Regions from separate parts of the Homo sapiens genome. Here all the other regions are linked to region 1. The links are contacts of gene promoters, found by promoter capture Hi-C in blood cells and fetal thymus (Javierre and others, 2016). All regions are on one chromosome and are shown on one strand. The core of a region is centred on a gene start or on the middle of the fragment in contact, and the rest is flanking DNA. Distances in the headings are between cores, read along the strand shown. Region 1 holds the start of CAHM (colon adenocarcinoma hypermethylated). Region 2 overlaps SOD2 (superoxide dismutase 2). Region 3 overlaps WTAP (WT1 associated protein). Region 4 holds the start of ACAT2 (acetyl-CoA acetyltransferase 2). Region 5 overlaps MRPL18 (mitochondrial ribosomal protein L18). Region 6 overlaps RNASET2 (ribonuclease T2). Region 7 has its middle 5.4 kb from the start of IGF2R.

Region 1 (4,090 bases), core at 652-3,151:
GTGAGCCGAGATCGCGCCATTGCACTCCAGCCTGGGTGACAAGAGCGAAATTCTGTTTCAAAAAAAAGAAAATTAACACACAGTAGCTATTATCAAATGCTGTAACCGTAAGTGATTTAATACATAGGAAATGAAAATTGCCTATCATTGTTCTTTAATCTGGTTTAAGTGGTTGAGCCTTATGACACTGCCATTTCTATGGGTCAAAAATGGTGGAATATTGTCATAAAATTCAACCTGATTTAAAGGATAGGGCAAGGAAAAAAAGCAAAAAAAAAAAAAAAAGCTTTAGAATAAAATATAATTGGATTATAATCCCAGACACAGGACTCACTAGCTATATTCTTGGGCAAGTTACTTAACTTCATCTTTCTTGGGTTTCCCCTTATTTGTAAAATGGGGATAACAGTCTAACCTAAGCCCAAGTTGTACTGATGATTAAACGAGATATGCATGTAGGGCATTCAGCATAGTGCCTAGGAGCTTAATAAATAAGCAGGCCATTAAGAAGGGGATTGCATCTTTTACACTAGCAGCATCAAAACCTTGATTTTGATTTTTCTAGGTACTGAAACAGCCTTCATTACTTAGAGACCATAGCTTTTTTGCAAGTTACTATTCCCTGCATTTAGAAAGTTCATCTTTAAACAGGCAATTCAGTAAGTAAATATTCTATGGCTCTAAAACAGATACGGCTGTTGGAGACTTTAAAACATCTGACAGTTACATTTTTAATGTTGTCTACCAAGGCTATTACATTTCCTCTGTCAAAGTAACTTAATTTTAAAAACGAACTCTGTGCTTGTTAAACGAAAAGGCCAGAAGGCTACTGGCTACTCAGCGTTCATTTGAAATTCTTATAGTGCCTTCAGTACAATTCAAACTTAGAGGTGATTCTCACAATTCATGTGAAGCAACATTTTACAAAAAAAATCACCTACGTTCACTGTTAAGTCAGAAGACAGAATGATTAACAAAATCTCAGCCGCGAATTACTCTCACGATGGCCAACTGGATATTAAATAACTCTGCATTATTTTAATGGAATGTTATAAAGGATTTGCAACAAAATGCAGACGTAGATTTAGGGACTGCCGACTTCTATAGATCAAGGACTTCATTGGTGCAGCTGAGGAAATTCTTCCAAACAAGTCTAAATGTTGGAAATCCACCAAACTGCAGAGAAAGACCTCTTGCCTCCGTATTCTTTCTTCATCTGTAAAAATGTTGACTTCTGCTTTTCAGACTACGCGCACAGCCTCTTTATTTCCTACTGCGGCTTCATTCCCTCACGGAACACTGACGCCATCGCGAAGGAAGCATTTCGAGCACGACTGACGCTCCCCTTATTATTTGCTAAGCCGCTGCGCTCGGGTCTGGCTACGATTTGCTTTCAGAATAACGGGAAGGTGCAACAAGATCGCTTCCCTAGAGGCGCGTCGCCCGCGTGGCCCGGACCCCCCACGCCCGCCCGCCGCCCCGTGGGTGCGCACGCGTGTCCGCGCAGGCTTCCCGCCTGGCGAGTGCAAGGCTCCTCTCCGCCGTGCTGCTTTCCAGCCTCTCAGCAAATCACGAACACCGAAAGAAGCCACGGCGGCGACGGGAGGGGCGTCGCGCGTGCTTCCCTCGGCGACAAAGCGGGAGCCGGGCGCGCCGGCCGAGGGCGCCCGGCGCAGAGTCCCGCAGAGGCGGACGCCGCGGCACGCGCCTCGAAAAGCCTCAAACTCTTATCCTCGGCTCTCCCGCCCCACCTCCGCCCCGCAGCCAAGACCCGCGCCGTGGCGGGCCCGACGGCCAAGGAAAGCCCACCAGCCCTCCGCACCGTGGGCGACGGGCCAAGACCCGGCCCTAAACGGCCAGACCCAGCCCCTAGTCGGCTGCCGCCCCCGCCCCACGCAGGCGCGCTCCGGGGCCCTCCCCTCCCCCACCGCGCGCTCGCGGGGCCCGACGGGGGCGGAGCGACCCTCGGAAGGGGCGTGGCGACCGGGCTCGACGCGCGCACGCGCTCTGGAGCCCCACGGCTACGTGTCGGGCCACGTGATGCCCACCCCGAAAGTCCCCCGTGAAGCAACAGGACGTTAAAAAAAAATTTCTCTTCTGCGGGGTGGATAAGAGGTTCTGAAAAAACTATAGTAACGGGAGGCGAGGCGGAGGCAGCGCTGGCGCGTCCCGCTGGAATTCCTCTCGCCTGCCGCGCCAGCCCCGACCGCGCCCGCAGCCCCACCCGCCCCGTGCCGTGGAAAGCCCCGCGCCCCCCCCGCGGCCGTCGGCCCCGCAGCCCACACCCACCCGCCCCGGGCGCCCCGCACGGCGGCGACCCAGTCCTTGCGCCCAGGCCCGCCGAGCGCCGCAGTCCGTCACACTCCCGTTGCCCCCGTCGCCCGCCCCGCCGGGGAGGCAGGGAGGAGGGGGCGCGGCGCCGGCGGCTGCCCCGGTCGCGGGGCGGCGGGCAGCAGGCAGCGGGAGCGCGCCGGCCGGGACCCGCTAACGGCCGCCCTGCGCGGCCCCGCCCGCCGCCCGCCCCCGGCCCTCCCCGCGCCGCTGCCCCTCCCCCCGCCGCCGCCGCTGCTGCCGCCGCCGCTGGCAGCGCCGCCTGAACTGAGGCGAACTCCGCCGCCAAGTGAGTGAGGAGGAGGAGGAGGAGAAGGAGGAGGAGGAAGAGGAGGAGCGCAGTCGGAGCGCGGCGGCAGCGGCAGAGGCGCCGCGGCGGGGACCAGCCCAGAGAGACCCCCCGAGCCCGCGGCACAGGCGGCGGCGGCGCTGAGCGGGCTCGACCAGCCGAGCGAGCGGCGGCCCCGGCTCCTCCTCGTCCGGCGCCAGCAGCCCGCGCCCCGCGCCCGCACTCGGCCAGCCGAGACCCGCCTCCCGCCCGCCCGCCGGCCTCGTGAGGGACGCGCCGAGCCGGGCGGCCGAGAGCGGCGGCGGCTGGGAGCGCGTCGGGCCCGGGCGGAAAGTGCCTGCGGGGGGCGGGCGAGCGCGCGGTGCCGGCCGCCCCGGGGCTCGGCGCGGGAGCCAGAGCGGGAGCCGGCGCGGAGCGGGACGCCGGGTCCCGAGCGGCCCGCGGCCGGGGCTCGCCCCCGCCCCTCCCTCCTCTCCGGCGGCGGCGGCGGCGGCGGCGGGCGGAGTGAGCTGCGGAGCCTGGAATATGGTCGGGGAAATGGAAACGAAGGAGAAGCCGAAGCCCACCCCAGATTACCTGATGCAGCTGATGAACGACAAGAAGCTCATGAGCAGCCTGCCCAACTTCTGCGGGATCTTCAACCACCTCGAGCGGCTGCTGGACGAAGGTGAGCGTCTCCAGGGCCCCGGCCCCGGCCCGACCCCCGCCGGGGCGGCCCCTTTCCCCGCTTGGGATGGTGGGGAGGGCGGGAAGGTCACGGCCGGGCGGGACCGAGCGCCGGGGGGACTGGGAGGCCAGGAGGGCGCACAAAGGAGGTGCCGGGCCGGGCTTGCGGCGGGCGGGCGGGCCGGGGTGGACCCGCCGGTGCCGGACGCCCCCTGCCCGGCCGGGACCCCGCGCCGCTGGCGTCCAAGTTGGCGCGTTGCGGAGGGCTGCGGGGTGAGCCCTGCGGCCCCTCTAGCTTCGGCGGTCACATTTCCGAGAGGTCGGCGGGGGCTGCGCGGACTCGGTGGTCCTCGCCGAGCCCTCCCGAGAGCAGGCCCACGCCGCGCCGCCGGCCTGGAGGACGCGTGTGCCCGGCGCGGGCCCCGCTCCTCCGCTCGGCCTCCCGAGCCTGCTCTGCGCGGACCCCCACCGCCCCGCGTTCGGGAGCTCTCCCCTCCCGTGAGGACTAAAGCGGGGTTTCGTGGTTGGGGAGTTGGTGCAGCTGTTCAATACTAAGTGGAAGTCAGTGTGGGGCTCGTTAGTTTAAAGAAATTCCGTAGGAGACCGAAATTATGCTGGCGTAGCCGACAAGGAGGACTAAGTGACGGCGAAAAGCACTTTTTTCCCTTTTGTTTGGGGAAGCGAGAACTGTTAGGGAGTTGAACTTCACTTTTCGGGGGTGGGGGGGGGGGGGGTGGAGTGCGAAATAACGCGATGACAGATCGGAGCGCAGCCTGAGTTAGAAGAACTTGGGCGGAGGGTTTG
Region 2 (4,090 bases), core at 403-2,902, 3.7 Mb before region 1:
CAAGGTGGGTGGATCACTTGAGGCCAGGAGTTCGAGACCAGCCCCGCCAACATGGTGAAACCCTGTCTCTACCAAAAATATAAAAATTAGCCGGGAGTGATGCCACATGCCTGTAATCCCAGCTACTTGGGTGGCTGAGACACAAGAATTGCATGAACCTGAAAGGCGGAGGTTGCAATGAGCCGACATTGCACCACTGCGCTCCAGCCTGGGCGACTGTAAGACTCCGTCTCAAAAAAAAAAAGTTCATAAAATGAAGTCTCTCAGTCTTTCCCTAATATGAAGTACCATCCAGAAACCAGAAGGTGGAGTTGATGTGATATTCTATGTTGGCGTGAACATAAAATCTTATGACATAACCCCATGAAAGCATTCTCCATTCCTACTTGTGTCCTTTTGAAAGTTACAACTTTTATCATACTCGTTGTTATGAAAAATATGCCACTATGATACCTCTGGTAAGAATAAGGTAACTTAGGCCAGGCACGGTGGCTCATGCCTGTAATCCCAGCACTTTGGGAGGCCAAGGTGGGCAGATCATGAGGTCAGGAGTTCAAGACCAGCCTGGCCAACATGGTGAATGAAACCTCATCTCTACTAAAAATGCAAAAATTAGCCAGGCGTGGTGGCGGGCGCCTGTAATCCCAGCTACTTGGGAGGCTGAGGCAGGAGAATCACTTGAACCCAGGAAGCGGAGGTTGCAGTGAGCCAAGACTGCGCCACTGTACTCCAGCCTGGGCAACAAGAGCAAAACTCTTGTCTCAAAAAAACAACAACAAAAAAAACAAAAAACAAGTATAAGGTAACTTCAGTAAATCAACAATCGATTCCTACTGTGCACAAAATGTAGATAAGGGTGCACCAATATATACCAACCTTTGGGTTCTCCACCACCGTTAGGGCTGAGGTTTGTCCAGAAAATGCTATGATTGATATGACCACCACCATTGAACTTCAGTGCAGGCTGAAGAGCTATCTGGGCTGTAACATCTCCTGAAAAGTTAAAATGCAAACACATTTTTTTGTAACTCCTACTTTTTCAACCACTGTATACATTATATTTTTTTCTTTGTAAGCTATTAGATAATGGGACCAGCTTATCTATAACATCCGTTTGTCCTAAAATTCAGCACCCCCCCGCCCCAAAATTATTTGTCCCAGACATGCTGAACAACTGATGAAGGACCTAGCAGAGGTGGAAAAGCTAGAAAATTCACTCCTGGCTGCTAGGCTCAGGGATCTCTTAGATAGAAGAGATTTTAGGAAATGAAACACCAAAGAGGACAATCAAAATAATAGAATGCTAAAATGTATGGCTCAACATACAGACTGTACAGAAAACCTTCAACTCTCACTTTCAAGACAGACGACGATTCATTGGGAAATATCTCCAAGTCACATTAACAAGAAACTCAACATACTCAAAATTGAACTCCTGATGTTCTACCCCAAACTTACTCCTCCTATTGTCCTCCACGTCTCAGTAAATGCCAGCTCTGTCCCTCAGGACATCCTTGGGAACCTGATGTCATTTTTGACTCCTCTCCCTTCACCCCACATCCAATCCACCAGCATATCCATTAGCAAAGCCAGCTCTACCTTTAAAATACATCCAATCTATATAAAAGCACACAGAGAAAAATAAAAGAAAAAAATAAAACACAAGCAGAACCTAATCCCTTCTCCCTAACTCTACTGCCACCTCATTGGGACAGAGGACCAGTATTTCTCACTGCACTGGTGCCACTATCCCCTCAGTTTTGGGGGGTGGGGGTGGGCCTTGCCCCCTCCAAAGGCTCCCCTTCTCACTGGAGCGAACCCTAGGTGTTTACACTCAGCTACTCTTACTACCAAGAGGCGCTGCACTTGACCCCGTCATTGAGCACGTGCTCACGCAGCTGCAGCCTCACTGGCCTTTTTGCACTCACATGACCAACTTGGATGTTCCCCTCAAGGCTAGCTGAGCACTGCTGCCTCTGCTGAACACTCTTCCCCAAGACAGTCTCATGCTGCGTTCCTGTTCCTCCTTCAAGTCTCCACTGAAACATCAACCCCATCAGTGAAGCCTTCTCTAGCCACCATACATGAATTAGCAACTCCCTGCCACCCCTCCCAGACCCTTTACTCCTTCTCAATAGGCCCTGTAACTCCTGGCATACTGCATGGGTACCTTGCCAAATAAGTAGGCAAAATAAAATAGTCTTTTCTATGCCTTCAAGAAGCTACAGACTAAATGAACTATTAATATTAGAAAAAAATGGAAATCCTCTTGTTTAATAAATATTTTGTGCATATTATCCACAAGATACCAAGAGAAGCAAAGTAAAGGACACAGAGACCCACTGAGAGCTTTGCTCTCAAGGAGCTTACATTTTGGAAAAAGTTCTCAACTGCTGTTCTGAAAGTGTACGTTAAGAACATATGTCTGGGCCGGGTGCGGTGGCTCACGCCTGTAATCTCAGCACTTTGGGAAGCCGAGGCGGGCAGCTCTCTTCAGGTCAGGATTTCAAGACCGGCCTGGCCAACATGGTGAAACCCTGTCTTCACTAAAAATACAGAAATTAGCCAGGTATGGTGGCGCGTGCCTATAATCCCAGCTACTCAGGAGCATGAGGCAGGAGAATGGCTTGAACCCAGGAGGCAGAGGTTGCAGTGAACCAAGAACACGCCACTGCACTCCAGCCTGGGCGACAGGGCAATACTCCGTCACAGAAAAAAAAAAAGAAAGAGAAAGAAAAAAACATACATACAAGGCCAGGTGAGGTGGCTCACGCCTGTAATCCCAGCACTTTGGGAGGCTGAGATGGGCGGATCACTTGAGGTCAGGAGTTCCAGACCAGCCTGGACGACATGGAAAAACCCTGTCTCTACTAAAAAACCCACAAAAAGTAGCCAGGCGTGGTGGCGTACGCCTGTAATCCCAGCTACTCAGGAGGCTGAGGCAGGAGAATTGCTTGAACCCAGGAGACGGAGGTTGTAGTGAGCCGAGATCACATCACTGCACTCCAACCTGCGGGACAGACTGAGATTCCGTCAAAAAAAAAAAAAAAAAAAAAAGTATGTCTGACTAGGCACGGTGGCTCACACCTGTAATCCCAGCACTCTGGAAGGCCGAGGTGCGTGGATAGGGGAGCCCAGGAATTCAAGAGCAGCCTGGGCAACATAGTGTGACCCCGTCTGTTTTTTTTAGACAGAATTAAAAAAAAAATTTTTAAAAGGAACATACGTAGACAATGCTGCTTTCTGAAACAAGCTCCAGTTGTTTAGCGATTCAGAAAGGAGAGAACCAACTGATATCTGAATACACAGCTAATCTCAAAGGGTTTTTTAAAGACACCAACTTTTTTTTTCCTTTGTTAGGTTTACAAACAGTTTTTTATAGATCTGTGTTTCCCTTATTAAATTTTCTTGAGAGTCACTCTAAAAATAGATGTAACTTTTCTATTGTTTTTTAATAAATCAATAGTAACTGAATTTTTAAAATGGGAAAGATACATGCTTAATGAGAGATAATTTAATAATCTTAACATCTTACAGTTTGCTTACTCATTTTAAAATTAATAAAAATTGAGGGCTTAATATCTGCTTTTAAGAACACTTTTCTGAAATTCAACATTTTATTTGGTTTCAGTTTAGTTTTTGCCTCAAATAATAATAAAAGTCAAATGCTTTTTGTTGAAAAATATTCATATTAGTCAGTTAAATGTGATGAGATTATGACATTGTTTTATCTTTTTTCCCCAAGTTTTCAAACATGAAAATCTTTTTAATAATTTTTAAAATATGTTTAAGTAAAAGAAAGCTCTGCAGGTACTCAATCACTTATAAACAATATAGTACAATACAATAAAAAGCTTTTTTCCAGTGGGTTGTATTACATAAGTAAGGCTCTGATTCCACAAGTAAAGGACTGAAATTAAGTTGTTTTTAAAATACTGAAGAGAAAGGTTCCTGGTGTCAGATGTTGCCTTACAGGAAGTACTTTCACAACTGGGGTATTCCCCAGTCTCTCCCCATTACATGTTTCCCAAATTTGTTATTTCCTAAATCACGGGGCCTTTTCCCGTAATTCAAGGTTCGTCTGTCTCAA
Region 3 (4,090 bases), core at 481-2,980, 3.7 Mb before region 1:
CTCCAGCCTGGGCGACAGAGTGAGACTCTGTCTCAAAAAAAGAGAGGAAAAAAAGAAAATTTAAGTAACTTCTGTTTAGAATCCTAAATATTGGAGATGCCAAAGAATTCTGCAGTAAGTGTTAGAAACAGTCGGGAGGACAGTATGATTATTATCCTCAACCTGTGGATTATCTCTTCAGGTTTTTCAAGAAACACTGAGTCTGTGTTTTTGATGGGGAGAAGAAACTATTAATTAAATGCCCATTTTGTGCCAGTTACCATGCTAAAGATTAATGTCTGTCTTCAGAAATAGCACAGTATTTGGGCCCTGGTTGTGGTAATTCTTTTTGAGATGGGGAAACTGAGGTGCAGAGATTTTGCTACTTTTGTATTTGCAAAGTTGACAACCTGTTTCAGAATACCAAGGTTATCAGAACTTTCTTCATGTGTTTCTCAGTCCTTTTAATGCCCTTTAAAAACAGATTATCATCTCATTTTTTGCTAAGCTTACTGTTAATTTTATTTTAGTGGAATAAGAATATGGATACCTGTCTTTAAGAAGAGAGTAAGCAAGTAAACCTAGGGAAAGTATCAGGTTGTAGAACCACATACCGATGATCCTTGCCAAAATCCTGGCATAGGAATTTGAACCCTGGTGTATGAAAAGTCTGCCCTTTGCATACTCAGGTTTCGCATCCCGTGAATGCTGTATTTTTGATCCGAGTACTGTATTTTTTAATCTGAGTTTGATTGAAAAAAATCCAAATATAAATGGACCCATGCAGCTAAAACCTGGGTTGGTCAAGGACCAACTATAATAACTTTTATAAGCTGGAATTTATATTGAACAGCATCCATGATACTTTAGTATTACAACTAAAGTTGTACATACTGAGTAGGTAGGATGCCTTAGTAACTAGATAAAAGGTATACCACCTAGCCATAGTGATAAATATAGCTGTTTTCAAACTGTCATTCACAGATCTCTACCACAGTACCTGTTACGTGAAGTTCCTGGTTGGTTCTCAAAATTTTATGTTCGTATATACATAGATACAGATACTGATATACCGGTTAAATATGTACAGCTCAAATAGCTAAAATTGTCTTTAAGATTTTTTAAATTAAAAATATTATTGGCCGGGCGCAGTAGCTTACACCTGTAATCCCAACACTTTGGGAGGCCAAAGCAGGTGGATTACCTGAGGTGAGGAGTTCGAGACCAGCCTGGTCAACATGGTGAAACTAAAAATACAAAAATTAGCCGGGCGTGGTGGCAGGCACCTGTAATCTCAGCTACTCTGGAGGCTGAGGCAGGAGAATCGCTTGAATCCAGGCGGTGGAGGTTGCAGTGAGCCGAGATCGCGCCATTGCACTCCAGCCTGGGCAACAGAGACCGGGCGCAGGGGGAGGGGGAGTGTCTCTGTCTGCTTCTTTCTCTCTCTCTCTCTCTCTCTCTGTATATATATATAGTGTGTGTGTGTGTGTGTGTGTGTGTGTGTGTAAAATTGATATTTAGCTCCAGACAAATGGGAAATTACAAGGAAATGCCAGATTTGATATCTGGGTTCTAAGACTTTGCAGCCTAATGCATGTGTCATGCTAAAATAGAAGTAGTTAGACATGTGGAGTTAAATATGGTGATGGTTTCTGAGATGATTAAAATGACTGCCACCAGGTTAAGGTAGTTACAAAGCAGCTTTCTGTAATGGCAGCAGAGATAATAAACTGGGCAACAAGGGAGGAACCAATTTAAAGAAAAAAAGAATAATATACATTTTATATCATAGTAATATGGTTTATGTCTTCATAGGACAGAGTGACTTGCTCAGTGAAACAGACTGTATACAATTAGCTCAGAAACAAATACTGAGGTTTTTATCTGTTTGCTGTATCCCTTGAGAAAGATTAAAGAGGGAAGGCAGGGTGCAGTGGCTCACGCCTGTAATGCCAGCACTTTGGGAGGCCAAGGCAGTTGGATTGCTTGCGCCCAGGAGTTCGAGACCAGCCTGGGCAGCATGGCGAAACCCTGTCTCTACCAAAAAAAATTACAAAAAATTAACTGGGTGTGGTGGCACATGCCTGTAGTCCCAGGTACTCGGGAGGCTGAGGTGGGAGGATCACTTGAGCCTGGGAGGTCAAGATTGCAGTGAGCCATCATCGCACCACTGCACTGTGGTCTAGGTGACAGAGCGAGACTGTCTCAAAAAAAAAAAAAAGCCCAGCACGCTGGCTCATGCCTGTAGTCCCAGCACTTGGGAGGCTGAGGTGGGCAGATCACCTGAGGTCGGGATTTCCAGACCACCCTGACCAACATGGAGAAACCCCGTCTCTACTAAAAATACAAGGAAGTTAGCCGGGCGTGGTGGCGCATGCCTGTAATCCCAGCTACTTGGGAGGCTGAGGCAGGAGAATTGCTTGAACCCAGGAGGCGGAGGTTGCGGTGAGCCGAGATCGCGCCGTTGCACTCCACCCCGGGCAACAAGAGCGAAACTCCATCTCCAAAAAAAAAGATTAAACAGAGAAAGAAGCAAGCCAGTAATCTAAGATCAATTTATGATTTTTCCTCTAAATTCTGCTTTCTTCAACACAATTTACTTAATCTGAAAACCAGGGTTTAATAACAGTATGATTAGAATGTTTCATTTATAAAGTGGAGTTGAGATTGTACGTAGTATAAAACATGCTGTTGGAAGATTATCTCCTTTTGAGGAATCTCAAAATCAAGTGGGAGAAATCAAGTAGTCTTGGTGTGTGTGTGTTTTGTTTGTTTGTTTTAATGAGAGACAGGGTCTTACCACATTGCCCGGGCTCGGTTCAAACTCCTAGGCTCAAGCAGCTCTCCTGCCTCAGCCTCCCAAAGTGCTGGGATTACAAGTGTGAGCCACCACACCAGCCTCAAGTAGCTTTCGAGATGATGCCACAGCACTCCAGCCTGGCAACAGAGTGAGACTCCATCTCAAAAAAAAAAAAAAAAATTCAGTTTAACATACCAAGCTTTTGGTCAAATTTCTAGTAGTTTAGAATTTATAATAAGTATGGGTAATTAAAATAAACCATAAACACTTTAAAGTAAGGGAAGATTCATGAGTATACTATTAGAAATAATAACTAGGGCTGGGCGTGATCCTTCCACAGGTAGTTCTAGCTACTTGGGAGGCTGAGATGAGAGTATGACTTGAGCCCAAGAGTTCAAGACTAGCCTGGGCACTATGGTGGGTCCCCATCTCTTAAGAAAGAAAGAATAGGAAAAACTAAATTAGTATAAGAACTAATTACTTAATTTGTATAAGTTATGAATATGCCAAATGCAATTTAGATGCTTTTTCAAAAGAGCACTGGTACTCAGAACCCTGATTCAATTTTTTAATCCTCATAGAATTTTTATATAAAGATTTTATGTTTGTCAGGTTAGCTCTTCATGTCGTATACTTTTTTTTCCAACCTTGTATTTTAATGTGGTGTTTATGTTTATTACACATTTTTTCTTTGTCTTTTTTTTGTGTGTGGATTTGTAGTTTAATGAATAATACCTGCTATTAGCATTCGTTCTAAAAAACAGCATAATAAAGTGTTCCCTACTTGAATTCATTAACCTATCTTTGAAACAGGGTTAAGTGAATTTTGTATAATAAAGAAGCTAATTTTGAGATACAAAATATTTGGCATAAAATTAAATACTGTAGGAATATTTTTATTAAGGTGTGACATACATGTGTATGTGAGTTTTTGTTGTTTGTTTGTTTGAGATGGAGTCTCTGTTGCCCAGGCTGGAATGCAGTGGCGCGCCATCTCGGCTCACTGCAACCTCCGCCTCCCAGGTTCAGGCGATTCCTGCCTCAGTCTCCCTAGTAGCTGGGATTACAGGCGTGTGCCACTACGCCGGGCTAATTTTTTTAATTTTTTGGTAGAGACCGAGTTTCACCATGTTGGCCAGACTTGTCTTGAACTTCTGACCTCAAGTGATCCACCCACCAGCCTCCCAAAATGCTGAGATTACAGTCGTGAGCCATCACGCCCAACCAGTGTAACATATATTTTAAAATATGTAATAGGATGGGCGTGGTGGTTCATTCCTGTAATCCCAGCACTTTGGGAGGCCAAGGCGG
Region 4 (4,090 bases), core at 737-3,236, 3.7 Mb before region 1:
TTACATGGTAAGTTGAAAGAGGAAGTTAGGGGTAAGATGCTGCACCAAATGCAGGAGATTGGAAGGTTTTTCTGGAAGAAGTGATGTTTAGGGGGAGTTTCAGAGGTAAATTTCTGGTTTGGTTAACAGAAGATAGTTTCACTGCTCACTGAGATTACAGAAGAAACAGGCTGGAAGAGTTTGGTTTCAATATGTCAAATTTGATGTGCTTATAGGAAATTTTATTTATTTGAGACAGTTTCTCTCTGTCGCTCAGGCTGGAGTGCAGTGGTGTGATCTCGGCTCACTGAAACCTCTGCCTCCTAGGTTCAAGCGATTTTCCCATGTCAGCCTCCCCAGTAGCTGGGATTACAGGCGCACGGCACCACGCCCGGCTAATTTTTCTATTTTATGGTAGAAACGGGATATCACCATGTTGGCCAGGCTGGTGTCAAACTGCTGACCTCAAATGATCCGCCCTCCTCGGCCTCCCAAAGTGCTGGGATTACAGGTGTGAGCCAAGGTGCCCGACCTGATGTGCTTGTAAGAATTTAAATGAAGAGGGTCAGTCAGCTTAGGAGACGAGGTTAGATGTAAGGATTTCAGACTTGTCAGTATACAGGTGGTGATTGATGCCGTAGGAATGACTGGTATTACCCAGGGAGCTGGTGCAAAGTAGGAGCCTTGGGGAACATGTTAAGGGGATGTGAGAGTAAGCCCACAAAGACTCAGAAGTGGCCAGGGAGTAAGGGGAAAATGGGATAGAATAGAGCAAAAGCCACGGGAGGCATTCCTTGAATTCCTTGGACTCAGATATGTTAGGGGACAGGAAACACATTGAAGACAACTGAAGAGACTTCAGTGTGCTGCTGAGTTCTTAGCAGAGTAGACAGCTGATTTCACCACTATTCCAGACCCTAAAGATTTCTCCTGAAATTGCACTGTTATGCAATTTTTTTCCTTCTCTATTGCCCCACCTCTGGGGCCTACACTCTTTACCTTCTCTGATTTATCTGACCCATCCGCATATCTCTGCAAAGTCTTAATGTAGGTTTCCAGGATTTAATGATTCTTTCAATCAACTTTAAAGTTCTTCAGGAAGATTCTCCAGGTCCGTCAACAGTTTTCCCCTTCATGACTTTGTGACAAAGCTTTCTTGTTCCACTATCCAGGTGTTCCCAACAAGTTGCTGTAACGGTGGCCCCTCATAAGCTTGCCTGGAAACCCTAGAAAGCTCAGAAAAATTATGAACTTTGCCCAGTAAGAGGCTGGGAAGTCAGAAAGGGTTTTAAACAAAACTGACCCCACTTGTTACATGCTCCTTTCACTGTCCAAACGTCAACCAAAGGAACTTTTGTGACGCTAAGACGCTCCCGGCGTCCTCACCCGTTCACAGCCAGAGTTGATCTTAGAAGGCAGGGGGCTCGCACCGAGACGCTCCTAGCAAGCCCCTCACGCGAGCGAATGACTGGCGCCAGGAGAAACGCATAGGACCTCCCGAAGCCGCCGAGAGCAAAAGGACCCATCAGAGCTGTGCTGAGACCCGCCGCGGGCCGGGCTCGCACTCGAGATTCTCGCCCGTGGGATTCCAGTCCTGAGCTGAACGAGAGATAAGTCTTTGTCACCCCCCAGTCTTTACTGTTTCGAGAAACCCTAAGATTTTTTAAAAAAAAGCCCAAGACGTCAAGTCGGGGAACTCCAACATTGGGGTGTCCAGAAACACTGGGGTTTCAGGCGCTCTGTAAATGCGTCCGAGGTCCGCGGTTCTGCCCGCAAGCCCAGACCCCGGCCTCACTTCCGCCCCGCGCCCCGCGCCCCGGCCTCACTTCCGCCCCGCGCCCCGCGCCCCGCGCCCCGCGCGCCTCCGCCCGCCCCTGCTCCGGCCTTGCGCCTGCGCACAGTGGGATGCGCGGGGAGGTGGTGCGCGGGGAGGTGGAGGGCGAGGGGCGGGGCTACCTCAGGTCCCGCCCGCGGCAGGCCTGTGGGCTGCGAGGAGGAGCTTTGCCTAGCTTGCAGGCAGCGCAGGGCAGACGGCGGCAGGAGAAGCAAGATGAATGCAGGCTCAGATCCTGTGGTCATCGTCTCGGCGGCGCGGACCATCATAGGTGAGTGGCCGGCGGGAGCCGCGCAGAGTCCGAGGCGCCTGCTGCTTCGGCAGGAGCGCCGAGGGCCGGACTTGTGTAGGAGAGGGGCGTATGTGGAGGAAGCCGGTCAGGCCAAGCCGCGAGGAGCCGCGGGATCCCTGGAACCCTGCGGCTCCCGCGTTCCCTGACCTGGTGCTACAGCCCCACCCTCTCCTCTCCCGATGTGCGCACTCCGTCCCTCGTGCTTGGATTGGCTCCCGGGGTAGAGCCATCGCGTGGCCTGCCTCTCCCATTGGTTGGCGTAGGGAGGTGTTCTCCTCCGGGGCCCCTGATTGGCCGGCTCCGGGAGGCGCCATCGGTAATGCCTGCGGCAGGGGCGGAACTGCTAGGTGGTCTGAGCCCGGCTTTGGGCTGGGGTCGGGCTGTCACACAATGGCTAGAAGTCGTGACTTCGTCTCCTTCGTGCCGCATGGTTTTCAACGCCCTTGACCCGCCGGTTCCTTTTGTTTGGGAAGCATGGGGTCGCATCCAGTCCTTCGGATTTGGGGAAATAGAAGGGCTACAGCGGCGTCCCTAGGCCGTTCTGGAGGTCGCCTGTCCAGCCCTCGGCTGCTGCGAGTTGTGGCACCCACCTTGACCTTTGCTCAGACCAGCAGGTGTAGGAACGTGTGGGAGGAGAGGGCACTGCCTCCTCGCGTGGCCTTGCCAAACAGGGTCATGAGGCTCCCCTGCTCGTAGGTGGTTCCCGTATTACCCGCAGGCTTGTGATGTCCACGCTCTCCGCCTTTCTATTGTAGGTTCCTTCAATGGTGCCTTAGCTGCTGTTCCTGTCCAGGACCTGGGCTCCACTGTCATCAAAGAAGTCTTGAAGAGGGCCACTGTGGCTCCGGAAGATGTGTCTGAGGTCATCTTTGGACATGTCTTGGCAGCAGGTAAGTCTCAGTGATTCCAGGAGAAGTCAGGCTTATTAGAAACAGCCCATAAACACACACACACACACACACTCTCACACACTCACACACTCTCTCACTCACTCAAGTTCTTGCCTCCTTGCTTTTGCTCAGAGTTCCCTCTGTTATGATTCCTCCTGTTGGCCCCCTTCTTCCAGCCCTGTCAGTAGCTTCTATCCAGCTTGAGACTCAGCTTCTTGGCCAGGCAGGGTGGCTCCCGCCTGTAATCCCAGCACTTTGGGAGGCGGAGGAGGAAGGATCACTTGAGTCCAGAAGTTTGAGACTAGCCTGGGCAACAAAGCAAGACCCCGTCTCTACAAAAAATAAAATAGCCAGGTATGATGGCCTGTGCCTCCCAGCTACTGGAGAGGCTGAGGTGGGAGGATCACTTGAGCCCAGGAGTTTGAGACTGCAGTGATTGTGTCACTGCACTCCGTCATGGGTGACAGAGTGAGACCCCTTCTCTAAACAAACAAAAAGACTTAGCTTCATTAATATGCTTTTTGTGAATGAACTTAGACCACTGACCTACACCACCTACACTGCCTTTTCTTTTCCTTTTTTTTTTTTTTTTTTTTTTTTTTTTGAGACGGAGTCTCTCTCTGTGGCCCAGGCTGGAGTGCAGTGGCGTGATCTCGGCTCACTGCAAGCTCCGTCTCCCGGTTTCACGCCATTCTCCTGCCTCAGCCTCCCGAGTAGCTGGGACTACAGGCGGCCCACTGCCTTTTCATTCTTACGAAGCAGGGCCGGCCGGGCCCGGTGGCTCACGCCTGTAATCCCAGCACTCTGGGAGGCCGAGGTGGGCGGATCATGAGGTCAGGAGATCAAGACCATCCTGGCTGACACGGTGAAACCCCGTTTCTACTAAAAATACAAAAAATTAGCCGGGTGTGGTGGCGGGCGCCTGTATTCCCAGCTACTTGGGAGGCTGAGACAGGAGAATGGCGTGAACCCGGGAGGCGGAGCTTGCAGTGAGCTGAGATTGTGCCACTGCACTCCATTCAGCCTGGGCAACAGAGTGAGACTCCTTTTAAAAAGAAGAAGAAGAAGCAGCAGCAGGGCCAGCCTGACGCATAG
Region 5 (4,090 bases), core at 479-2,978, 3.6 Mb before region 1:
GGGGCTATTTAAAGAGGATGTTACAGTAGCGGACAGGATACCTGCCTGTCTGAGGTGACATTTAAGAAGGTGAGATCTGAAAGAGGAAGAAGCCTAGTCATCTGCCAGAAAGAGCAGTCCTAGCAAAGGAAACTGCTGGGGTGAGGAACTGAAGGGCTTGTGGATCTGAAGCTCAATGGGCAGAGGATGAATGGCCCAAGATGAACATGGAGGGGTAAGGAGGCGACAGATGATTAGCTTTGTAAGTCAAGATGAGCACTTTAGACTTTCTTTTCATTATAGTGGGAAACTACGAGAGGATTTAAAGCTTGAGCCCGAATTGGTTTTTCAAGATCATTCTGGCTGGGCGCATTGTCTCATGCCTGTAATCCCAGCACTTTAGGGAGCCAGCCGAAGAAGCCGGATCATCTGAGGTCAGGAGTTTGAGACCAACCTGGCCAACATGGTGAAACCCCGTCTCTACTAAAAATATAAAAATTAGAGGGGCGTGGTGGTGCACGCCTGTAATCCCAGCTACTCCAGTGGCTGAGGCACGAGAATCACTTGAACCCAGGAGGCGGAGGTTGCAGTGAGCTGAGCGCCTGGGCGACAGAGCAAAATTCTGTCTCAAAAAAAAAAAAATCATTTTAGCTGCTTTTTGGAAGATTAAATTTTTGAGGGAGCAGGACTTGAAGAAAGACCAGTTAGGAGTCTAGTATGACTTGAGATACTTTGTTATAAAGGTGGTTGTTTAATGAACACTTACATTTGCCAGGAATTATGCTACTTGCTTTATATGTTTTTTCTCATTTAATCCTTAAAATTACATCATGAAGCAGTTATAATTTCCCCCATTTTACAGGATCAAAGAAATTGAGGTTTAGGGAGACATGATTAGTAAGTGCCAGAGCTAAGATTTACATATGTTTTAACTGACCTCAGAGCCAGGACGCTAGGTTATTACCACTATACTACAGCATGTAAGTGTTTATCAGGTTTATCTGCTGCTTATCTGCTTGGTGAGGATTTTTTAGAATTTCTTAAGGACTTCTTAAGTACTATGTAAAGTTGTAAGAGTAAATTGGAAATCATTACTGTGTGATGTATTATTTATTTATTGAACAAGCATCATACCTGTATCACTTGCTAGGCATTGCGTTAGAGGCAGGAGTTACAAAGATAAAGTAGATGTTATCCCTGTCATCAAAAGTCTTAAGTTTCATAGTGGAAAGTGGAATGGGGATAATGATGTGTTACAGTTGCTGTAATACATTTTTACTCATAGAGGAGGGAGTCCAAGAAAGGGAGTAGGCAGTTCACTTTTTAAATAATCTGGATCTTAAGGCTAAAAATCTTTTGAAACACCCAACCTATTACTTTCTTTTTTCTTTGTTTTTGAGACAGGGTCTGGGTCTGTTGCCCAGGCTAGAATGCAGTGGTATGATATCTGCTTACTGCATCCTTGACTTCCCTGGGCTCCAGCAATCTTCCCACCTCAGCCTCCTGAGTGGCTGGGACTAGAGGCGCATGCCATTACTCCCAGCTAATTTGTTTTGTTTTGTTTGAGACAAGCTCTGGCTCTATCACCCAGGCTGGAGTGCAGTGGTACAGTATCAGCTGGCTGCAACCTCTGCCTCCCAGGCTCAAACGATTCTCCCATCTCAGCTTCCTGAGCATCTGGGACTGCAGGCACACACTACCATGGCCGGCTAATTTTTTTCTTTTTCTTTTTTTTTTTTTCTGGTATTTTTTGTAGAGATGGGGTTTTGCTGCTGCCCAGGCTGGTCTCGAGCTCTTGAGCTCGAGAGATCTGCCTGATTCAGCCTCCCAAGGTGCTGGGATTACAGACGTGAGCCACTGCACTCGGCCCCAACGCATTACTTTGATTTAATATTTGGATCATTAAAAATAACTAAAGATGTATTTCCTCATTTTTTCTCTGTCTGCCTTACTCGCAATATTAAAAGTAGAGAATTTCAGAATATTATAGTAGGAAATGACCTTTGACATAATGAATCGGGCCCTTCATTGAACAAATGGTTCAAGTGTCAGCAAACTACGGCCCGTGGGCCAAAGGTAGATTGTGAGCTAAAAACTTGTTTTTACTTTTTTTAAGTTAAAAAAAAAATCAAAAGAATATTTTGTGGCTTGGGAAAATTAAATGAAAATCAAATTTCGTTGCCCAGGTTCTTAGAACCTAGCTGTACCTACTCTCATTTGTTTACGCATCACCTGGCTGTTCTAGCACTACAATGGCTGAGTCGAACAGTTTCAACAGAAGCTATTGGACCTAGAAAGCCTAAAATATTTACTATCTGGCACTTTGTGGAAAAAGATTGTTGACTCCTGGTTTAACAGATTGTGATTTTTGGCCGGGCGCGGTGGCTCACGTTTGTAATCCCAGCACTTTGGGAGGTCGAGGCGGGCGGATCACGAGGTCAGGAGATCAAGACCATCCTGGCTAACACGGTGAAACCCCGTCTCTACTAAAAATACACAAAAAAATTAGCCAGGCGTGGTGGCAGGCACCTGTAGTCCCAGCTACTAGGGAGGCTGAGACAGGAGAGTGGCGTGAACCTGGGAGGCGGAGCTTGCAGTGAGCCGAGATCGCGCCACTGCACTCCAGCCTGGGCAACAGACTGAGACTCCGTCTCAAAAAAAAAAAAAGAGATTGTGATTTTTTACTAGAGCCACCAGGAAAACCAGGAGTAGACTCCATATTTCCAAATCTAATGCCTCTTCTATTTCACATTGAGAATCCTAGTGAGAATCTAATGATTTGGGTGTGTTTTCTTTAACTTAAACTTGACTTTTTAAAGGGTAACATATACGTATGTTATAAAATCCAAAGGGAGTACAGTTTCTTGTGTGTCCTTCTAAAGATTGTCTATGCATATAAGCAAAAACTGTTAAAAACAATAAATCTTAGCATACGATAAACACTTCCGCATCTTTCTTCACCACCACCCTCAACCACCCCAAGCACGCACTTAAAAATACATCTTGGAGATTCTTCATGGTAGTTAAGAGCATTGACTCTGGAGCCAGACACTGGGACTTAAACCATGGCTCCATTACTTACTAGTTTTAATCTTTTTCAAGTTACTTAACCTTTCTGTGTTAGTTTCTGCAGCTAAAAAAAAATATAGAAAAAATAATAGAATTGAGACATAAGCTTTATCTATAAACCGTTAAGACAGGCCTGGCATATACTAAGTGCTCAGTAAATGTTAACTATTATCTTCATCATTATAAAGCATTATTTCATTCATTTCAGTAACTGTATGGAATACTATTGCATGGATTTTACTTAACTCGCTCCTAGAGGGTGATTATCTTTTATGATTACAGTGTTGCATCGAATTGTCTTGTCCATGCATTTTGTTAGTGAGATTGAGCATATTTTTGTGAATTTGAGTCATTAATATTTTTCTTTTCTGTGAACAGTCTGTTTGGATAATGCTTTGCCTATTAAGTTATGAAGGGGTGGGTTGCCCCTCCTCACCTGTGGGTGTTTCTTGTTAGGTGGAACGAGAGACTTGGAAAAGAAAAAGACACAAAGTATAGAGAAAGAAATAAGGGGACCCAGGGAACCAGCGTTCAGCATATGGAGGATCCCGCCAGCCTCTGAGTTCCCTTAGTATTTATTGATCATTCGTGGGTGTTTCTCTGAGAGGGGGATGTGTCAGGGTCACAAGACAATAGTGGGGAGAGGATTAGCAGACAAACATGTGAACAAAGGTCTTTGCATCATAGACAAAGTAAAGAATCAAGTGCTGTGCTTTTAGATATGCATACACATAAACATCTCAATGCTTTACAAAGCAGTATTGCTGCCCGCATGTCCCACCTCCAGCCCTAAGGCGGTTTTTCCCTAACTCAGTAGATGGAACGTACAATCGGGTTTTATACCGAGACAGTGCATTGCCCAGGGACAGGCAGGAGACAGATGCTTTCCTCTTGTCTCAAGTGCAAGAGGCATGCCTTCCTCTTATACTAATCCTCCTCAGCACAGACCCTTTACGGGTGTCAGGCTGGGGGACGGTCAGGTCTTTCCCTTCCCACGAGGCCATATTTCAGTCTATCACATGGGGAGAAACCTTGGACAATA
Region 6 (4,090 bases), core at 742-3,241, 3.5 Mb after region 1:
TGACCTTTTAAATTTTTGGTAGAGGTGGCATTTTGTCATGTTACCAGGCTGGTCTCAAACTCCTCAGCTCAAGCAATCCACCCGCCTCAGCCTCCCAAAGTGCTAGGATTACAGGCACGAGCCATTGTGACTGGCCGAGAAAAGTTTTAAAGCAAAGTAATAAATACCATACAGGTTAGAAAACAGGCTTATATGGTAAATTCCACTTGCTTTCAATTTTTTATACATTGGAGAAAGGCACCAAAAATGCCGTAACAGAATCATATCTCATAAAAGGTTGTTCAAACTGCTCAGCCCCAGAAGACAGATTCTGTTATCTTGCTTCCCACACAGTTTCCACTTCTAGCGATTCATCACGCTCCCCACACCCGCTCAGACAGTAATCAAGACAGCAATCAGAGGCTGGGACTTACCAGAAGCGGCTGCGATTGGGAAACGAGTGAATTACGTCAGGCCAGTATGCCCTCATTTCTGGCAAAAGATCCTATGCATTAAAAAATAAAATAAGTCTACGCAGGTTCTTAATAATAAACTCAAAACCTAGAAGGTAAATTTGATAAACTGACACCAAAGAATTGAGCTCTGCTAATTAACAATACTTTGGTGAATAAAATAATCCTATGCTTATTTTGTATGAAGTGTTTGTTAAGATATATCTACAAGTGCAATTTGAGTAATCATAAAACTGCACACGAAAATACAAGCTGTTATAGGTGAAGGGATAAAGTGTACATCCAAACAATGGAATATTTTCAGCAACAAAAACCAATGAGCCGTCGAGTCATGAAAAGACACTGGAGGAACTGCAAACATACATTGCTAAGTGCAAGAAGCCAGTCTGCAGAGGCTACATACTGTATGATTCCAACGACGTGACAATTTGGAAAAGGTAGTCTTAAGAGACAGGAATGAGATTCGCGGTTGCTTGGGGGTTCAAGGGGAGGAAGAAGGGGAGGTATGGCTCAGGGGGTTTAGGGCCAGCGGCTGCTCCAGAGCACACTGGGTGGGACTTGCTCTCCTGCATTTGTCCAAAGCCGCACAACACAGGAGTAAACCCTAATGTTAATGCTAAACTTTATTTAATAATAAAGTATCAGTATCAGTTCATTAATTGTAACAAATGTAACACACTATAGAAGATGTTAATGATTGGGAGAGTTGAGGGGGAAGGGAGTGAACTGTCTGTAATCTCCATCCAATTTTTCTGTAAACCTATAACTGTTCTAAAAACATTGGCCGGGCACGGTGGCTCACGCCTGTAATCCCAGCACTTTCGGAGGCCGATGCGGGCGGATCACGAGGTCAGGAGATCGAGACCATCCTGGCCAACCTGGTGAAACCCTGTCTCTACTAAAAATACAAAAATTAGCTGGGCACGGTGCCACATGCCTGTAATCCCAGCTACTCAGGAGGCTGAGGCAGGAGAATCGCTTGAACCAGGGAGTCGGAGGTTGCAGTGAGCCGAGATTGCGCCACTGCACTCCAGCCTGGCGACAGAGTGAGACTCCATCTTAAAAAAAAACAAAACGAAACCATCAGTTAAAACAAACAAACAAACAAAGGACAAGCTCTCCTTTTCCCAGAGAAGAGCTTGTGTGAGCTGGGCAGCCTGGGCACCAGTCGCGCTAAATCCAACAGAACTGGAGTTTACTTTTCTATTTCTACACACCCTCTACACCAAAAAAACCCCAAAAAGGTCAGTAAAAAGGTGCTTAACAAACTTCGGATAACTTCACTTTCCTTCCCTTTCTCCTGTTTTCCAGCACCCTATATGAGGGTCCTTTTCTCAGCCCATTTGTAACTCAGCCCCTACCCCACAGCCCCTGCCTGTGTGGGCGCAGCTCTGTCCCCCTCCTCTTCCCCTCCAGCCCCCCACCCCACCTCTCCTGCCCCACCATGCTGGCTTCAGCCCCATCAGCTCTCCGAGATGTCCTAGGGCACGATATGATTGAGTGTGCAAATTGGGCTACTTCCGTTTGGGACAATGCAAAGGTGTTCCTACTGCTACACAACAAGGAAGCCAGGACTACTCTGAGGAGCAGCGGCTCACACCACCACAGACCCACGACCCACCCACGCCCCCACTCAAAAAGCATTTCAGCTTTCCTGTCCTGGACCCCCCGGGGATATGCAGTCCTACGGTGCCTCTTCTCAAATCTCTCCACTCCTGGGTTTCCGCCTTTCCCAGCTGCAGGCACACATGCCCCTTTCCACCTGGCTGTTAACACGGGGCTCCACCAGCACTGTCCCCTCTGCCCACCAGGCCCACACCTGTCAGCGCTGTCCCCTTAGCCCACCCACATCCGTCAGCCCTGCCCCCTCACCCACCCACGTCCACACCTGTCAGCCCTGCCCTCACCCACCCACGTCCACACCTGTCAGCCCTGCCCTCACCCACCCACGTCCACACCTGTCAGCCCTGCCCTCACCCACCCACGTCCACATCTGTCAGCCCTGCCCTCACCCACCCACGTCCACACCTGTCAGCCCTGCCCTCACCCATCCACGTCCACACCTGTCAGCCCTGCCCCCTCATCCACCCACGTCCACACCTGTCGGCCCTGACTCCTCACCCATCCATGTCCACAGACCCATGTCCATCCCCACACCTGTCATTTTGATTCACCATCCTCATGCTAACTATGCCTAAAGCCACCTTTCCTCTGACCCTGAAGATCCTCTATGTCACCCCCTGGAGGTCTCAAGGGCACTTCAAACTCAATGTATCCTGAAGTGGCCTCTTCATCACGCCTCCCCAGAAACCATTCCCTGCAGTGAGTCCCGGAGGAGAGGAGGAGAGTCTGTGTGAGGAGCTAGAGACAGCACCAGGCTCTGGGGTGTCCCTTCTAAGTCTCACGGCAGTCCCCAGCCTCTTGGCTCATCCCACTGAAGGTCTTCACGGGGAGGAAAAAGAAAACAATTCCATATGGATTAGAACTTGTGGGCTGGGCGCGGTGGCTCCCACCTGTAATCCCAGCACTTTGGGAGGCCGAGGCAGGTGGATCACCTGAGGTCAGGAGTTCGAGACCAGTCTGACCAACATGGGGAAACCCCATGTCTACTAAAAATACAAAATAAGCCGGGCATGGTGGCGCATGCCTGTAATCCCAGCTACTCAGGAGGCTGAGGCAGGAGAATTGCTTGAACCCGGGAGGTGGAGGTTGCAGTGAGCCAAGATTGCGCCACTGCACTCCAGCCTGGGCAACAAGAGCAAAACTCTGTCTCAAAAAAAAAAAAAAAAAGAAAAGAAAAGAAAAAAAGAACTTGTGATGGATTTGCAACTAATGACCTTGGGGAATGTACCATTCCTAGGAAAGACCCACAACTCCCGCAAGCCTTCAATGCTACCACACGTTTTAAAGAAGGCCTCAGTTACCACCCCCTCCCTGGGGTCCAGGTCCAGTTACCCTGGTATATACTGGTTACACACAGGAACTGTTGGCACCCCTAAGGAAAGATGAGGGCGTGTGTGTGAGTGAAGACTCCGTATGACATATAAGGTACGGGTATCTCAAAGGAACGCCTCTGCTAGTATCTCTAATAAATTCCCGCCCTGTGAGTTTTCTTTAATCAAGCTCTTGTACTGGAAAGGCCCAGCATGTCCACCTGCTCAGAAACCCATCCACCAGATAGGACGGCCCCAGGCCTGTGCTCTCTGAGCCTCAGCTGTCTGGAGATGCCTGGCGATATGGCACACCGACCAGATTCCCACGTCGGTCATCTGACCCAGAAGTCCTGGGGCCTGGGACGAGGCGGGGCTGGCGGGCGAGCGTCAGGATCTGCACAGGTCTGGCATGGGGGAGTGTCAGGGCTTGCTCCGGTCGGAGCCCCTCGCTCAGGCCCCTCATGCAGTGGCTTGGGCACAGGGCAGGGGAGGGGAGGAGAGGGAAAAGGTCAATTGGTGTAATTTGTGGGGTCGAGATAACAATACTTACTAAAACAGCAGCAAGGGCTCAATCCTGGTGAATACATTCATGACCCCTTAATTTTAAAGATGACTTTGAAGGTACGCTTGTGAAGAAAAGAGTTAATCTAGGTCAACACTCTGCAGTAGAAATATAATTAAAAGTCAATACCTTAATCTCTTCTA
Region 7 (4,090 bases), core at 571-3,070, 3.5 Mb before region 1:
TTCTTCTTATGATGTGAGTAGCCCTCCCCCATTGAGAGCTAGAGTCTAGGTTTCCTCTTTTTGAAGCTGGGTAGGGCTTGGTGACTGTCCTGATCACAATGGCAAAATTGGTGTCCTGTGATCCAAGAATGAGTCATAAGAAGGATGTAGCTTCCACCTCGCTTACTCTTCCTTCTCTCTCCTTTTGCTTGACTTGGAACCCAGCTACCACAGCTGAAGAAACTCCGGCCACATGTGGAGGCTATATGCAGGCATTCCAGCTAAGGTCTCAGCTGACAGCCAGCACCAACCATCAAATGTGCAAGTGAAAATCTTTCAGATGATACCAGTTTCCATCCTTCAAGTCTTAAAGCTGAGGGCCCAGAAGTCTTAAAACAGAAATGAGCCATTCCGACTGGACCCTGTCTAAATTCCTGACCCCATTAATTCTCACTAGTGAGAATTAATAAATGATGGTTGTTGTGTTACACCACTGGATTTGAGGGTAATTTATTACACACTGATAGACAGTTAATACTAAGAGCCTATTTTCTCTTTTGTTCTCTCCCTGGCAATTTCTTTCACTATGCCAATGTCTTGTTATCCTTCTCATCACCTTCCTCCCAAGTCAACTCTCCCATCTTTGCAAGTGCCTCCCCATAATTACATTCAATGCAGGCTTCCTGCCTGTGTTCAGTGTTGCATTACCAGTTGTCTAGTGGTCACCTCTGAATACCTAGACTTGCTATTGCACAAAAAGATACTTAGCGTCTTGCTCCTCAGATTCATTTCTCTTCTGTTTTCTCTGTTCTCTGGAACCAATCTACCTGTCTACAAGCGTTGATCATCATTGACTCTTTCTTTCCTGTCTGTCCTACCCAACAGGTTGCTAAGTGCTGCATTGGGTCAGTTGGTATGATTTTGGCTGCAAGAAATACAAAAGTTAGCTAATCATGGTGTGGCATTTTGGGGCCAATCAGGAGGTAGAAACAGGGGAGTCTTAATATAAATAATTACTAACTATGATGAAGGAGTAACTGTAAGATGTAAGAAAACTCTACATAGTCCCTCAGGCTGACGGAGAGGACTCAAGGAATGACAAGCCTTCAGATCTGAAGGCATTCAGATTTCATGGGAAAAGGTTTGTTTCCATTTATTGGATAGCAGACTGGCCAGGCTGGAGCTGGCCTGCACTAGTATGCAAGTTGGGGAGCAGGTGGTCAGCACCTCATGGTATGGATGTCCTGGGAACAGCAGGAGAATCTCTTCTGCAGTTTGCCTCCAGTGTCCTCTGCTCAGAAAGCTTAATGTCATTTAGTTGAAAGGAGAACTGCTTAAATGGATTCCTTTATCACAGAGCATATACTAGAAGATGCATTCAAAGCAGAGAGGCAATACATTAATAACACATGCACTTGGCTTAGGCATATTTATTTATTCTATCACAAAACAAAAGATCGGATACAAGAGTTTTGGTGAAGTGGACCAGTGTCATTCAGGATCCTGATGTCTTCCGTCTTGTTCCCACTGTGTTGGCCACATTTTCCCTCACAGTTATGAGGGGACAGCAGTTTCATATAGAAATTACTGCATCCAGACAACAAAAAAACACAAAAGGGGAAGGGATTTCTGTTTTGCAACTCTTTTTATTGGAGAGAAAGCATTTTGCAGAAGATCTCAGGAGACTTCCCATCGAGTTCCATCATCAGGACTGGGTCATACGCCCTTGCTCTGGCTGTAAGAATGTCTGGGAAGTGAGAATCTCACACCCACAGCCTCTGGTGGAGGTGGGCTTTGCCAGCAATCAAGGGCATGAGATGCCTGCAGGAAGGCAGCCAACCACACCTGCCTCATGCCTCTAACCCTATTCCCCTCTAAATTCCCATGCCAAAGCCTTAGGGCATTATCTTTGATAGTTACCTGGCCAGGTGTTAACTAACTGGGAACTGGGTGTTTTTGAAGGACACAAGGCTTTCTGCTGTCGAATTTGTCACCTTAATTGTGATACTTTTAATAAATTAGCTTCCAGTCTATCTTAAAACCAGATGGATTTTCCTGATGTGTCACCGTGAACATCTCTCTTTCTCCAAATCTCTCAATGAGGAGGCAGTTGATGAGTTAACTGCATGGGCTTTGGTCCCAGATCATACAGCTCACATCCAAGCGCTGTCACTTACCAACTGCATGACCTTGGGCAAGGTATATAATTTCTTTATGACTGAATTGCTCATCTTTTCAAGGAGGGTAATAAAATTACCTATTTGGTGGGATTGGTATTAACAGTAAATGATATAATACAGGAATGGTATTGACAGTGAGCCTTCAGTATGTATTATTGTATCTGCTGTTATTGTTCCCTACTTCATATCCAGCCAAATCTAAGCTTATTAGATGACCATTTAAGATCCTCTAGGAGCTGGGCACAATAAAAATTTTCAAACTTATATAAAAATTGACTACGTCCTAAACTGCGAGCTCCTTGAGGGAGGGATTATATTTTATGAGCCCAGGATCTAGCACAGTTTTTGGCCAAAAGTAGTTTTTCTTTATTCCCATGTGACTTTTGCTTAAGCAAAAGGCCTTGTACAGCAAATACAGCTTCTGTATTTTACCATGGCCTTGCACTTGCTGTTCTTTGTGCCTACAATGTCCTTTCCCTAAATTTCCCCCATTCTTCCAGATTCACTCAAAAGCAATCTCTTTCATGATGAGATCTCTTTCCCAATTCTCATTTTGAAAAATGTCAAACCTATAGAAAAGTTGAAAGAATAGTACAAGAGCACTGATATATTCTTCACTACATTTGTGACTGTTAATATTTTTAACCTCTGCTTGCTATTCATACATATATTCTTTTTTTCCCCTGAAATCATTTGAAAGTTGCCAACATCATGACACTTCACTTTCAGCATGTATCACATAAGAACAAGCACATCGTCCTATGTAATCACAGTAGCTTTATCTTATGAAATTTAACATTGATTCAATATTATTTACTGTACATTTTTTCTTGGCAGTTTATGATCTTAGAAATCAAGAAGCCTAAAATGAATCACTGTGTGTTTTGAGGGTCTTTTGGTAGAATCATGTTCCTTTCTGGGTGTTCTAAAAAGTTCCTGGATCTTTGGGGTGAGATTCTGTTTGAGTTTCAGAACAATGTGTGCATGCCATCAGTTTGATAGCTCATGGTTTGTGTTCCAAAGGGGCAGCTATTAGTGTTACCTGTCCCTGCTATTGCTCTTGACATCATGCAGGGACATCCTCAGTAGCTGCTCTTTCTGCCCTTGGTCTGTCATTTGAGCTTGTGTTTCCAAAGTCAGATGCAGGAAGATTGGGTCCTCACAACAGGGCGGTGGTTGGAGCACCTGGATGCCAAGCCTGGATCTGTCCTATCATTTGAGGGACATTTGTGTTCTTGGCTATTTGTGTTCTTAGGCTGCCATAACAAAGTACCTCTGGGTGGCTTAAAATGACAGAAATTGTCTCACACAGTTCTGGAGGCCGGAAGTCCAAAACCAAGGCATTGGCAGGGTCACGCTCCCTCTGAAGGCTCTAGGGGAGAATCTGTTCCATGCCTTTGTCCCAGCTTCTGGTGTTGCTGGCAATCCTTGGTGTTCCTTGGCTTGTAGATGCATAGCACCTCCATTCTCATATGGCTGCCTTCTCCTTGTGTGTTTCTTGCCCACTTCTTGAAAGTACACCAGTCATACTGGATTAAGAACCCACCCTACTCTAGTATAACCTCATCATAATTTATCCATAAGGAATGACCCTATTTTCAAATAAGGTCACACTTGAAGTACTGGGGGTTATGAGTTCAACGTATTCTTTTAGGGGACACAATTCAGCCTATAACAGGGGGTCTTAGGCTGATATCTGTGAGTCTCTGCTTCCTCAAAGGTTTTTCAGAAAATTTAAATGAAATACAGGAGAATTATGCCCTGCAGTATTTGACTTTACAGCAGGAGTCCCCCAACCCTCCGGGCCATGGACTTGTACTGGTCTGTGGCCTGTTAGGAACCTGGCCGCACAGCAGGAGAACGAGGGCATTACCGCTGAGCTCCGCCTCCTGTCAGATAAGTGGTGGTGCAAACCCTATTGTGCATGAGAG

The links. The method cuts DNA at HindIII sites, captures the fragments that hold promoters and counts their contacts. A CHiCAGO score of 5 or more calls a contact.
Region 2: a fragment that was not itself captured here is called in contact with the fragment with the promoter of CAHM in region 1 in 2 of 17 cell types (fetal thymus and non-activated CD4 T cells); the score reaches 8.0 in fetal thymus.
Region 3: a contact is called between a fragment that was not itself captured here and the fragment with the promoter of CAHM in region 1, in 1 of 17 cell types (fetal thymus). The highest score is 8.0, in fetal thymus.
Region 4: a contact is called between the fragment with the promoter of ACAT2 here and the fragment with the promoter of CAHM in region 1, in 2 of 17 cell types (fetal thymus and naive CD8 T cells). The highest score is 8.3, in fetal thymus.
Region 5: a contact is called between a fragment that was not itself captured here and the fragment with the promoter of CAHM in region 1, in 1 of 17 cell types (fetal thymus). The highest score is 5.7, in fetal thymus.
Region 6: a contact is called between a fragment that was not itself captured here and the fragment with the promoter of CAHM in region 1, in 1 of 17 cell types (neutrophils). The highest score is 7.2, in neutrophils.
Region 7: a contact is called between a fragment that was not itself captured here and the fragment with the promoter of CAHM in region 1, in 1 of 17 cell types (total CD4 T cells). The highest score is 5.2, in total CD4 T cells.

What each region holds. Positions count from the first base shown.
Region 1 is chr6:163,412,049-163,416,138 of GRCh38, forward strand. CAHM (colon adenocarcinoma hypermethylated) reads right to left here and starts at 1,902. Exons shown (of 1, transcript NR_037593.1): 1 at 1,017-1,902. It overlaps QKI (QKI, KH domain containing RNA binding), which reads left to right and starts at 2,670. Exons shown (of 8, transcript NM_006775.3): 1 at 2,670-3,287. The coding sequence starts at 3,146. It overlaps LOC124901234 (basic proline-rich protein-like), which reads left to right. Exons shown (of 4, transcript XM_047419614.1): 2 at 566-2,037; 3 at 2,201-2,620; 4 at 2,917-3,128. The coding sequence starts at 1,158. The coding sequence ends at 3,128. RefSeq lists silencers at 1,309-2,088, 2,179-2,998, 3,249-3,298, 3,499-3,688 and enhancers at 1,922-2,574, 2,575-3,228. The HindIII fragment of the contact is 4,236 bases long and covers 285-4,090 here.
Region 2 is chr6:159,687,250-159,691,339 of GRCh38, forward strand. SOD2 (superoxide dismutase 2) reads right to left here. Exons shown (of 5, transcript NM_000636.4): 3 at 877-993. Among named protein-coding and RNA genes, the nearest start is that of SOD2, 3.9 kb to the right of the region's middle. RefSeq lists a silencer at 68-318. The HindIII fragment of the contact is 4,400 bases long and covers 1-3,852 here.
Region 3 is chr6:159,731,434-159,735,523 of GRCh38, forward strand. The region is part of intron 1 of WTAP (WT1 associated protein); the gene reads left to right. It also overlaps a transcript of SOD2 not described here. Among named protein-coding and RNA genes, the nearest start is that of WTAP, 6.0 kb to the left of the region's middle. RefSeq lists a silencer at 2,255-2,515. The HindIII fragment of the contact is 2,491 bases long and covers 486-2,976 here.
Region 4 is chr6:159,760,059-159,764,148 of GRCh38, forward strand. It overlaps ACAT2 (acetyl-CoA acetyltransferase 2), which reads left to right and starts at 1,987. Exons shown (of 9, transcript NM_005891.3): 1 at 1,987-2,084; 2 at 2,861-2,995. The coding sequence starts at 2,030. It overlaps SOD2-OT1 (SOD2 overlapping transcript 1), which reads right to left and starts at 2,274. Exons shown (of 2, transcript NR_037166.1): 1 at 1,936-2,274; 2 at 200-1,578. It also overlaps a transcript of SOD2 not described here. RefSeq lists enhancers at 1,240-1,299, 3,368-3,868 and silencers at 1,730-1,789, 1,810-1,959. The HindIII fragment of the contact is 5,525 bases long and covers 1,190-4,090 here.
Region 5 is chr6:159,791,279-159,795,368 of GRCh38, forward strand. The region is part of intron 2 of MRPL18 (mitochondrial ribosomal protein L18); the gene reads left to right. Among named protein-coding and RNA genes, the nearest start is that of MRPL18, 2.9 kb to the left of the region's middle. RefSeq lists an enhancer at 3,689-4,090. The HindIII fragment of the contact is 2,847 bases long and covers 306-3,152 here.
Region 6 is chr6:166,942,606-166,946,695 of GRCh38, forward strand. It overlaps RNASET2 (ribonuclease T2), which reads right to left. Exons shown (of 9, transcript NM_003730.6): 4 at 4,077-4,090; 5 at 414-484. It also overlaps the pseudogene LOC105378119. Among named protein-coding and RNA genes, the nearest start is that of RNASET2, 12 kb to the right of the region's middle. The HindIII fragment of the contact is 5,816 bases long and covers 1-4,090 here.
Region 7 is chr6:159,961,627-159,965,716 of GRCh38, forward strand. No RefSeq gene overlaps it. Among named protein-coding and RNA genes, the nearest start is that of IGF2R, 5.4 kb to the right of the region's middle. The HindIII fragment of the contact is 1,080 bases long and covers 1,281-2,360 here.